Regions from separate parts of the Homo sapiens genome. Here region 1 is linked to region 2. Evidence: promoter capture Hi-C in 16 types of primary human blood cells and fetal thymus (Javierre and others, 2016). All regions are on one chromosome and are shown on one strand. Each heading gives the region's core, a stretch centred on a gene start or on the middle of the fragment in contact. The rest is flanking DNA. Distances are from core to core; before and after follow the strand shown.

Region 1 (5,132 bases), core at 2,392-4,891, 240 kb before region 2:
TTAAAGTCAGTTGGGAAAGTGAACAGCTCTATTAACCTAAGGATGGTTTTTTAAGAAGAGCCTCAGGTGCTGGTGTGGGTCTTTGAAAGCACATCAAAGGTAATCTGGGCACACAGAAACAGCAAGAACTCCCAGAGGATCTGGGTGGAGCACCTACATTGTTTTTTTGTTTGTTTTGTTTCGTTTTGTTTTTTTAAACGGAGTCTCAATCTGTTGCTCAGGCTGGAGTGCAGTGGCTGGATCTTCGCTCACTGCAACCTCCGCCCCACCCCCCCCCAACCCCAGGTTCAAGCGATTCTCCTGCCTCAGCCTCCCGAGTAGCTGGGATTACAGGCGCGTGCCACCACACCCAGCTAATTTTTCTATTTTTAGTAGAGATGGGGTTTCACCACGTTGGCCAGGCTGGTCTCGAACTCCCAACCTCGTGATCCATCCACCTCAGCCTCCCAAAGTGCCAGGATTACAGGCATGAGCCACCATGCCTGTCGGATGTTTCTTGATTTGTAACCTCTGAGAGACCCATCCGCAGGCCCTGAGCATTCCACTCCTCTCAGAATTGTTTCCAAGCCCAATAACCACATTATAAATCAAACAAGATTCAGAGAATAGCCAAAGGGAATGTTTACTGAGTACCTACCCGGTCTGGCACTTTGCAATACACTTGTATATTGCTAAGACGGATAGTTCAACCGTTACATAGTTATATGATTGATAGTTATACATGCTTAACTGCTGGGGATTGGTTCCAGGACCGCCTGTGAATACCGAAATCTGCAGGCGCTCAAGTCCTACAGTTGGCCCTGCCAAACAGCAGATATGAAGTCAGCTCTTCAGATCTGTGGGTTCTGCATCCTTACAATATTTCCTTTCCTTTCCTTTTCTTTTCCTCCCTTCCTCCCTCTTTTTTCTTTTTCTTTTTTGAGATGGAGTCTTGTTGTGTCGGCCAGGTTGGAGTGCAGTGGCGCGATCTCGGCTCACTGCAACCTCCACCTCCTGGGTTCAAGCAGTTCTCCTGCCTCAGCCTCCCAAGTAGCTGGGATTACAGGCACACGCCACCACCCCTGACTGTTTTGTATTTTCAGTAGAGACGGGGTTTCACAATGTGGGCCAAGCTGGTTTTGAACTCCTGACCTCAAGTAATCCACCTGCTTCGGCCTCCCAAAGTGCTGGGATTACAGGTGTGAGCCACCGCGCCCAGTCTTTTTTTTTTTTTTTTTGAGGCAGAGTTTCACTCTTGTTGCCCAGGCTGGAGTGCAATGGCACAATCTCAGCTCACCACAACCTCTGCCTCCCAGGTTCAAGCGGTTCTCCTGCCTCAGCCTCCCGAGTAGCTGGGATTACAGGCATGCGGCCACCACGCCTGGCTAATTTTGTATTTTTAGTAGAGATGGGGTTTCTCCATGTTGGTCAGGCTGGTCTCGAACTCCCGACCTCAGGTGATCTGCCTGCCTCGGCCTCCCAAAGTGGTGGGATTACAGGAGTGAGCCACTGCGCCCAGCCTCCTTTTCTTTCCCCCCTTTTTTTTTGAGACAGGGTCTCTGTCACCCAAGCTGGAGTGCAGTGGAGGGATTATAGCTCACTCAGCCTCGACCTCCTGGGTTTAAGCGATCCCTCTGCCTCAGCCTCCTGAGTAGGTGGGACTACAGGTGCGGGCCCCGAGGCCCAGCTAATTTTTTTTTTCCCCCAAATTTTTAGTAGAAAGGAGGTCTCTATGCTGCCCAGGCTGGTCTTGAACTCCTGGCCTGAAGCGATCCTCCTGCTTGGATTCCTGAAGTGCGAGATTACAGGTGTGAGCCACCATACCTCAACACTGTATTTTCAACCCGCTCTTCGTTCAATCTCCAAAGGTGGGACATGCGGATATGGAGGGCCGATTGTGTATGGTTGGACCATACACATATAAATGGCTTTAACCTTTACTGACTCTCACAGAACCCTCAGTGCAGTGGCGTGATCTCAGCTCACTGCAAGCTCCACCTCCCGGGTTCACACCATTCTCCTGCCTCAGCCTCCCGAGTAGCTGGGACTACAGGGGCCCGCCACCACGCCCGGCTAATTGTTTTGTATTTTTTTTTAGTAGAGACGGAGTTTCATCGTGTTAGCCAGAATAGTCTCGATCTTCTGACCTCGTGATCCACCCGCCTAGGCCTCCCAAAGTGCTGGGATTACAGGCGTGAACCACCGCACCCGGCCTTTTTATTTTTTTTGAGATGGAGTCTGGCTCTTGGTCCCCAGGCTGGAGTGCAATGGCGGGATCTCGGCTCACTGCAACCTCCGCCTCCCGGGTTCAAGCGATTCTCCTGCCTCAGCCTCCCGAGTAGCTGGGACTACAGGTGCGTGCCACCACGCCCGGCTAAATTTTGTATTTTTAGTAGAGACGGAGTTTCACGGTGTTAGCCAGGATGGTCTCGATCTCCGCCCGCCTCGGCCTCTCAAAGTGCTGAGATTACAGGCGTGAGCCACCACGCCCCGCCCAACTCGTCCTTTCTTTAGACTTTATCCTGTGAGGGTGAATTATGGCCTGTCCCTGGACACACCCGTTCTGCTTTCCCCGCACCAACTGTATCCCAAATAGGGGAAGTAGTCTCTTCAACCTTCAAAAATGGGGCACTGGCTGGGCACGGTGGCTCACGCCTGTAACCCTAGCACTTTGGGAGGCCGAGGCGGGCGGATCACCTGAGGTCAGGAGTTCGAGACCAGCCTGGCCAACAGGGTGAAGCCCTCTCTCTACTAAAAATACAAAAAATAGCCGGGCGTGGTGGCGCGCGATTGTAATCCCAGCTATTCAGGAGGCTGAGGCAGGAGAATCGCTTGAACCCGGGAGGCGGAGGCTGCAGTGAGCCGAGATCGCGTCACTGCACTCCAGCCTGGGCGACAGAGCGAGACTCCATCTCAAAAAAAAAAAAGGGGGGGGGGCGGGGAGCGACATTAGGCCAGCGCGAGTGTGCGGCTCCAGGCCACCAGGGCGGCCGCTCTGGCTCTGCCCTGTTAAAGTGGGGGCAGCGCCCGCTGAAAATTGGCACATCTTGGCTTCCGCAGGTACCAGGGCCTTTAAAAAGGTTCAGCTGGCCGGGCACGGTGGCTCACGCCTATAATCCCAGCACTTTGGGAGGTTGAGGCTGGCAGATCACGAGGTCAAGAGATCAAGACTATCCTGGACAACATGGTGAAACCCCGTCTCTACTAAAAATACAAAAATTAGATGGGCGTGGTGGCGCGCGCCTGCAGTCCCAGCTACCCGGGAGGCTGAGGCAGAGGAATCGCTTGAACCCGGAGGCGGAGGTTGCAGTGAGCCGAGATCGCGCCTCTGCACTCCAGCCTGGGCGACAGAGCATGATTCCGTCTCAAAATAAATAAATAAATAAATAAATAAATAAATTAAAAAAAGGTTGAGTTGAGTCATCGCATGAGGTAAGTCTGTCTCCTCTCCTCACCCATAGGCTGCAGCCACAGGTCCGCACGGAAAACCAGGAGCTCCAAGACTGCCGCACACTCAACATCCAACTCGCGGGGCCGCGGGGACGGCCACAGAAGCCAATCGGCTCCTGCTACATCACAGACCCCGCCCTCAAACCTTGAGGAGCCCGCCCCACGCACTGCTGACCCGGAGCCAAAAGAACTGCGTGGCGTCCGATTCTGGCGTCACTTCCCTTCCCGCGATGGCGGCACAGGGAGCTGCTGCGGCGGTTGCGGCGGGGACTTCAGGGGTCGCGGGGGAGGGCGAGCCCGGGCCCGGGGAGAATGCGGCCGCTGAGGGGACCGCCCCATCCCCGGGCCGCGTCTCTCCGCCGACCCCGGCGCGCGGCGAGCCGGAAGTCACGGTGGAGATCGGAGAAACGTACCTGTGCCGGCGACCGGATAGCACCTGGCGTGAGGGCGGGGCCCAGGGCTGGGGGCGGGGCGGAGCTCAGGGCCAGGGGGTGGGGCGGGGCCTGAGGACAGGCTGTCAGTGAGGCCAAGATCCGGGGGCTGGGAGTGGAGAGGAGGAGGGGCGGGGCTTGAGGAAAGAACGCCGCGTTCCGGGCGCTGAGAAACCAGCCGGGTTGTGGGAGGCTGTTGACCTTGAATTATGCCGAGCGACGCCTACAAACCCACCGCTCAGGCCTTCACCAGGATTGTTCCCATTCCACTTCCTTGCCCAGTCTTAGGCTTCATTCCTTTTTCTTGCTAACGCTGCTTCCTCACCCTCTCTTGTCTCTGCGTCTTCTTTTTCCATTTGTCCCTGGCAGCCATCCGCAGAGAGAAGACCTTCCAGAAACAACAGGCTTCCCTTTCCTAAAGTTCTGCTGCCTTCTCTCATTTTCAAAATTAACCCCAAACTCCTTAGGGTGGCATTCATTTTTGTGACCTCTCCAGTTTCTAGCCAACACTAGGAAAGGGCATTGCCAGGCCAGAACACACTGTGCCCTCTGAAGACCACACGCCCTTTACCACCTGTGCCCTTTGCTTGGAATGCTTTTTCTTCCCTTTCTCCTTGTTTGCCTGCCTAGCTCCTACTCATCCTCTTAGCTTCATATCCTTTGTGATGTCATCCTTGATTCCCCTTCAGGCAAAGTGAGTGGTTCCCTTCTCTATGTTCCTGCAACATTTTTTTCCTACCTCAGTCATAGTTTTTGTAACATTATGTTGTAATTTTCTCTCTCTGTCTTCCTCCATCATACTGGGAACTTCTGGAGGGCAGCACTTCTTGTGATTCATCACTGTGTCCTCTGTACCCGGCAACAACACAGCATAGGGCCAGACACGTAGTGGTTGCCTTACTCATTTATTGAATGCTCTGCTAATTGTCAGGTGCGCTGCTAAAAATTTTGGAGGCATTAATTCACCTTCTAAGGTTGGTACTATTATCCCTTTTGTCTTTTTTTTTTTTTTTTTTTTTGAGACAGGATCTCGCTCTGTCACCCAGGTGGGATTGCCGTGGCACGATGACAGCTCACTGAAGCCTAGACCTTCTAGGCTCAAGTGATCCTCCCACCTCACCCTCTCAGAGTGTTGGGATTACTGGCATGAGCCACTGTGCCCAGCTGTTATCCCTTTTCACAGATGAAGAGACTGAGGCTCAGAAAGATGGAATAACTTGCTCAGTTACACATAGCTAGGAAGTAGGGAGCTGGAATTTTGTGTATTTTTTT
Region 2 (5,497 bases), core at 12-2,511:
ATAACCCACTTTCTAAAATGAAAATGTGAAGATCTCAGTCCCCATGAATTCCCTTCAATGCTGTCCTCCACTCTCAGGACAAAATCAATGTGTCTTCACCAGGTGTGGTGGCTCACACCTGTGATCCCAGCAATTTAGGAGGCTGAGGCAGGAGGATTGATTGAGATCAGGAGTTTGAGACCAGCCTGGCCAACATGGGGAAACTCTGTCTCTACTAAAATTAAAAAATATATATATATAAATATATATATATATTCAGGTGCAGTGGTGCAATCCTATAGTCCTGGCTACTCAGGAGGCTGAGGCAGGAGGATCCCTTGGGCCCAGGAGTTCGAAGCAGCAGTGAACTATGCACCCACTGCACTCCAGCCTGGGTGGCAGAGCAAGACCCTGTTTCTGAAATTAAAAAAAAAAATTGATGTACATTAGGGGGGCTTCCACGGCCTGAGGCCTGCTTCCCCTTGCTTTCCTCCCAGTGGCCCTGACCTTGTCTCTTACAACTTCCCACCCTGACTGTCTGGTTCCCATTGCTGATTTCACACACAGACCCTCCTGTCCCCTGCCTCATCCATGTCTGGCTGCTCTGTCATCTCCCAACTTTGGTTGCTTTCAATGCTCAGCTCAAGCACCACCTCTTTCAGGAAGCCTTCTCAGAAAGCCACACCTTCACAACCCGGGTGAGGCACCCTGTGGTCTCTGTGCTTCCCCCTCACAGCAATGAACTTGCTGTTTATACATCTGCCTCTCCACTGACCCCAGGGCTGGTGCTTTGTGGTTTATATTTTCTTCCCCACCTAGCAGAGGGCTTGCATCTCCAGGCTCAAATTAGGCTTCTTGAATAAATGATGAATAAATGAGTGAATGAATGAATGAACAAATACTCGCTCTGTGCTCCTCCTAGGGACCCGGATGCCCCACTCCTTGGCCCAGACTTTCCAGGTCAGAGTGGAGGGCTCCCACCAGGGTTTCCTTTAGGGTCCTGAGGGGTTGGCATCTGCCCAAACCCCCTCCAGTCTGGCTGAAATTTCAAGGTCAAGGGGTGCCTTCTGGCAGTCAAGGGTGAGCCTGGGAGGGGCAGGGCAGGGATTTGCATCCATCTAAGCAAAGGGCATCAAGCCAAGTCATCTGATGAGAGTGACTCCGGTTGGGGGGTGGGGGCGTGTGGGAGGCCGAGCCTGTCCTCGGATCAGTTGCGTACTCTGCCCGCCCCCTCTGACTCATGCTGACAATCTTCTTCCTTCCCCTGGCCACCTCTCTGCCCACTTGCTTCCTCAGTACCTTGGTCCAGCTCTTCCTGCAACGGCCCAGGAGCTCAGAGCTCCACATCTGACCTTCTAGTCATGACCAGGACCAGGGCAGCACTCCTCCTGTTCACAGGTGAGCCTGGACCCCAATGAAGTAGGGCTGGGGACCCAGGCCCAAGGGAGCCAGGGCCCTGAACTGGGGGCTCAGGCTGGGGGGTTAGGATCTGGGTAGGAAGAGAGACTCAGTCAAGCCTGAGGGGGAGGCAGGCACATAGGGTCTGAGATTTGGAGTTTGTGGAGGGAGAGGATATTGATGAACCAATTTTGGGAGAGTTCCAGAGATGCTGGAAGAGAGGCCAGTTGTCTCTGTACTGCAGAGATTTTTAAAATAGGCAGAATGCGCCAACTTGTGCTCTGTGGACAGGATGCTTTGGTCCGCAAGTTTTCCTGGACTCACTCTCATAGCGCCCGAGGTGCACGTTGGGGAAAGATCCTTTTTAGAGCCTGGGTACTGCTCTGCAGAAATGGAGAACTGCAACTCGATAGTGGATGGTGGGCAAGGGGCATCCCTGGACCCTGGGAAGGAGAGAAGGGGATGAGTTGGGTGTCCAGAAGACCCAGGCACCCCGGGCATCAGGCTCGGAGGGGAGATTGGGACGCTGGGGCCGGGGGTGGAGGGCAGCCAGGCAGAAGGAAGACCCTTCTCCAAAGCTCTCTTCCCACCTCTTTCCCAGCCTTAGCAACTTCTCTAGGTTTCAACTTGGACACAGAGGAGCTGACAGCCTTCCGTGTGGACAGCGCTGGGTTTGGAGACAGCGTGGTCCAGTATGCCAACTCCTGGTGAGGCCCAGGTGGTGCTGGCCTTTGGCTCCATCCATCCTCTCCCTGCTCAGGGCCCCATGCCCCCGGCCCTGCCCTGTTATTTGCAAACTCTCCTCTCTGTCTGGTGTAGCGACTGCCCTGGCTAATGAAGATTTGCCTTGAAGGCAGGCACGGTCTCACAGCTAACATTTACAGAGCAGTAAGTGCAGTGCCAGGCTCATCACAGGTGGATGCTGATTTAGTCCACACGACAGCCTGTGAGTAGGAATCAGTCGTGCAACAAACACTTATTTGTTTTTTCTTTCTTTTTTTCTATACATTTAAAAATATATAGAGACAGGGTCTCACTATGTTGCCTGGGTTGGTCTCAAACTCCTGGGCTCAAGCAATCCTCCCGCCTCAGCCTCCCAAAGTGCTGGGATTCCAGGTGTGAGCCACCACACCCAGACTCAACAAATATTTCTTGTCTCCATACGCCAGAGAATCCAACAGACAGAAATCCCTTCCACATGGACTTTAAATTATTAAAATCCATCTTGCAGATGAGGAAGCTGAGGCTCAGGGAGGGAACGCAAACTTGCCGGAGTGGCAGCTGTGCTGCAGCGTCCACACTCTTACCTAAAGTGTTCTTTGTCTCCTCGCAGGGTGGTGGTTGGAGCCCCCCAAAAGATAACAGCTGCCAACCAAACGGGTGGCCTCTACCAGTGTGGCTACAGCACTGGTGCCTGTGAGCCCATCGGCCTGCAGGGTGAGTCACCGCCCCTCCCGGGACCCAGGGCCGGGCTCCCAGGCTTCCCTGCTCCAGGGGCCCGTGGACTCACCGGAGTGTCACTTTCAGCTTCCACTGTGTCTGAGACCCTCACCCTCAGATATGCTTCCTGGCCCCTTAAGGCCTCCCCGCCCATCGCACTCCCGCAGCTCTGTCAAGACCCGACAGCTTCCTTCACCGTCAGACCTCCTTGTCTCCCAGGTGGAGGTGACCCCTGCCCAGCTCTTCCACAGCCTTCTCTGTACCCCCGAGAGTGACCATGCACATATCTGTCCCCACAGTGCCCCCGGAGGCCGTGAACATGTCCCTGGGCCTGTCCCTGGCGTCTACCACCAGCCCTTCCCAGCTGCTGGTGAGTGGCCCTGGGTCACAGGAGGCTTCTGAGGGAGGGAGGGAGGAGCCGGGGCCGCGGGGGGCTGGGAGTCTCCTGTAGGGTGGAGGTTCCGGAATGTGAGGGTGGGAGGAAGCAGGGGCAGCCCCCCAGCAGCCCGCTGTGTCCCCAGGCCTGCGGCCCCACCGTGCACCACGAGTGCGGGAGGAACATGTACCTCACCGGACTCTGCTTCCTCCTGGGCCCCACCCAGCTCACCCAGAGGCTCCCGGTGTCCAGGCAGGGTGAGTGTCGGGACCACCAAGGCTTTGAGGAGCTCACGCACATCCAATTGGGGGTGCGGTGGGCTAGAGACAGTCTTGCCAGAGTGGATCAGAAAGAAGGGATCTGGAAAAAGAGTTACCACGTGTTGCAGTGGTTCCTGACGCTGCTGCCCGCACATCCTGCCGATCGCCCGCACGCTGCCGGACCTTTCCTGTGACCTTAACCTCTCCAAGCCTCAGTTTCTTCATCTGTTGGATGGGGATAATAACACACCCAGCACTGAAAGCAACACAGGATGATTCATGGCCAGGGGTTAGCACAGCAGCTAGCACCAGGCGACAGCCCCATGAAGGCCAGCTGTTGTTATTTTTAGAGGAGAGGATCTATTTTCATCCAATGGGTCCTGGGATATGACCAATTGGTTTGTGCCGTAGTTTAGGAAAGGTCAGTGAAAGTGCAGTGTGAGCAACGTGTGTGTGTGTACATGTGTGTATATGTATGCATGTGTATACATGTGCACATGCACACATGTACATGCATGTGTGTGCATGTATGTGTGTGTGCGTGTGCACATGCAGGTTGAGACGCAGGGCCTGACTTCCCTGGTGCTGATGGGGAAGAAAGATAAGGAAGCAAAACAGTGGGCTTTGGCAGGCTGAGGCCTCCCCCTGGTTTCACATTTGCTCTCAAGCCTTTGGTGAGACTGACATCTGGCTGCAAATAGGGTGTGCCTTCCAGCACCTCCGTGGGTCCAGACTCCATCCACAGGGGCCTGGGCACCCATCAGAATGCCCAGGACACCTGTCTCTCCGGTGGAGGCCTCTGGGGCAGAGGGGATGCTTGAGAGGTCACATGGAAGGGGGTTTCCTCTCCAGGTGCTGGAAGATCGTCTCTTCTCAGGACAGATGCTAACTTCACACAGGAGGGGAGTGGGGGCCTGTATTTAAGCTGAGAACAGAACAGGCCCAGTGTGTGGCTGTTGCCTGGGATGATTTGTTTAAAATATTAACAATCAAGGCAAGAGGGTTGTTTGAGGCCTGGAGTTTGAGACCAGCCTGGGCAACATAGTGAGACCTCATCTCTACAAAAAATAAATATAAAATACAAAGTAGCTTGGCATGCTGTTACATACCTCTAGTCCTAACTACTGGGGAGGCTGAGGCAGGAGAATCGCTTGAGCCCAGGAGTTGGAGGCTGTAGGGAGCTTTGATCACACCACTGCACTCCAGCCTGGGTGACAGAGTGAGACTCCATCTCAATTAAAAAAAGAAATTTAACAAAACTACCATTCAGCACTGAGCAGTGAGGACAAACACTGGCTAGGGACTGGTGCCAGTTTGTGTCATTGCTGGATGGGGTGACATTGAGGGAGGAAGGAGGGGTGGGTCCAGGGAGGGGCACAGATATCCAGGGTGGTGGAGGGGTAGGCCCTCTGCTTCCTACCGTCTGAATTGGAGAAATCTTCCTGGTTTTTTTTTTTTTCTTTTTTTTTAGAGATAGTCTTACTCTGTCACTGAGGCTGGAGTGCAGTGGTACAATCACAGCTCACTGCAGCCTCCAACTCCTGGGCTCAAGTGATCCTCCCACCTCAGCCTCCAGAGTAGCTGGGACCACAGAGAAGAGCTACCATGCCCAGCTGATTTTTAACAATTTTTAGTAGATGTGAGGTCTAACTATGCTGTCCAGGCTGATCTTGAAATCCTGGGCTCAAGCAATTCTCCTGCCTAGGCCTCCCAAAGTGCTTGGATTATAGGAGTAAGTCACTGCACCCAGTCTGACCTTCACTCTTTTGTTGATGGGGCTGAGCAGCTTCATCACAGCCTTTTTCATTTTTTATTTTTTTGAGATGGAGCCTCACTCTGTTGCCAGGTTGGAGTGCTGTGGTGCGATCTCAGCTCACTGCAACCTCCACCTCCCAGGTTCAAGCAATTCTGCCTCTGCCTCCCAAGTAGTTGGGACCACAGGCGCGTGCCACCACACCCACCTAATTTTTGTATTTTTAGTAGAGACGGGGTTTCACCATGTGGGCCAGGATGGTCTCGATCTCCTGACCTCGTGATCCGCCCC

Evidence for each region. The method cuts DNA at HindIII sites, captures the fragments that hold promoters and counts their contacts. A CHiCAGO score of 5 or more calls a contact.
Region 1: the fragment with the promoter of KAT8 here is called in contact with the fragment with the promoter of ITGAX in region 2 in 2 of 17 cell types (monocytes and neutrophils); the score reaches 9.3 in monocytes.

Annotation. Positions count from the first base shown.
Region 1 is chr16:31,114,023-31,119,154 of GRCh38, forward strand. KAT8 (lysine acetyltransferase 8) reads left to right here and starts at 3,642. Exons shown (of 11, transcript NM_032188.3): 1 at 3,642-3,870. The coding sequence starts at 3,660. It also overlaps a transcript of BCKDK not described here. RefSeq lists silencers at 3,460-3,686, 3,586-3,935 and an enhancer at 4,106-4,225. The HindIII fragment of the contact is 10,033 bases long and covers 1-5,132 here.
Region 2 is chr16:31,353,915-31,359,411 of GRCh38, forward strand. ITGAX (integrin subunit alpha X) reads left to right here and starts at 1,262. Exons shown (of 30, transcript NM_000887.5): 1 at 1,262-1,377; 2 at 1,979-2,084; 3 at 2,711-2,814; 4 at 3,117-3,187; 5 at 3,339-3,450. The coding sequence starts at 1,341. RefSeq lists enhancers at 524-653, 844-1,033. The HindIII fragment of the contact is 18,983 bases long and covers 1-5,497 here.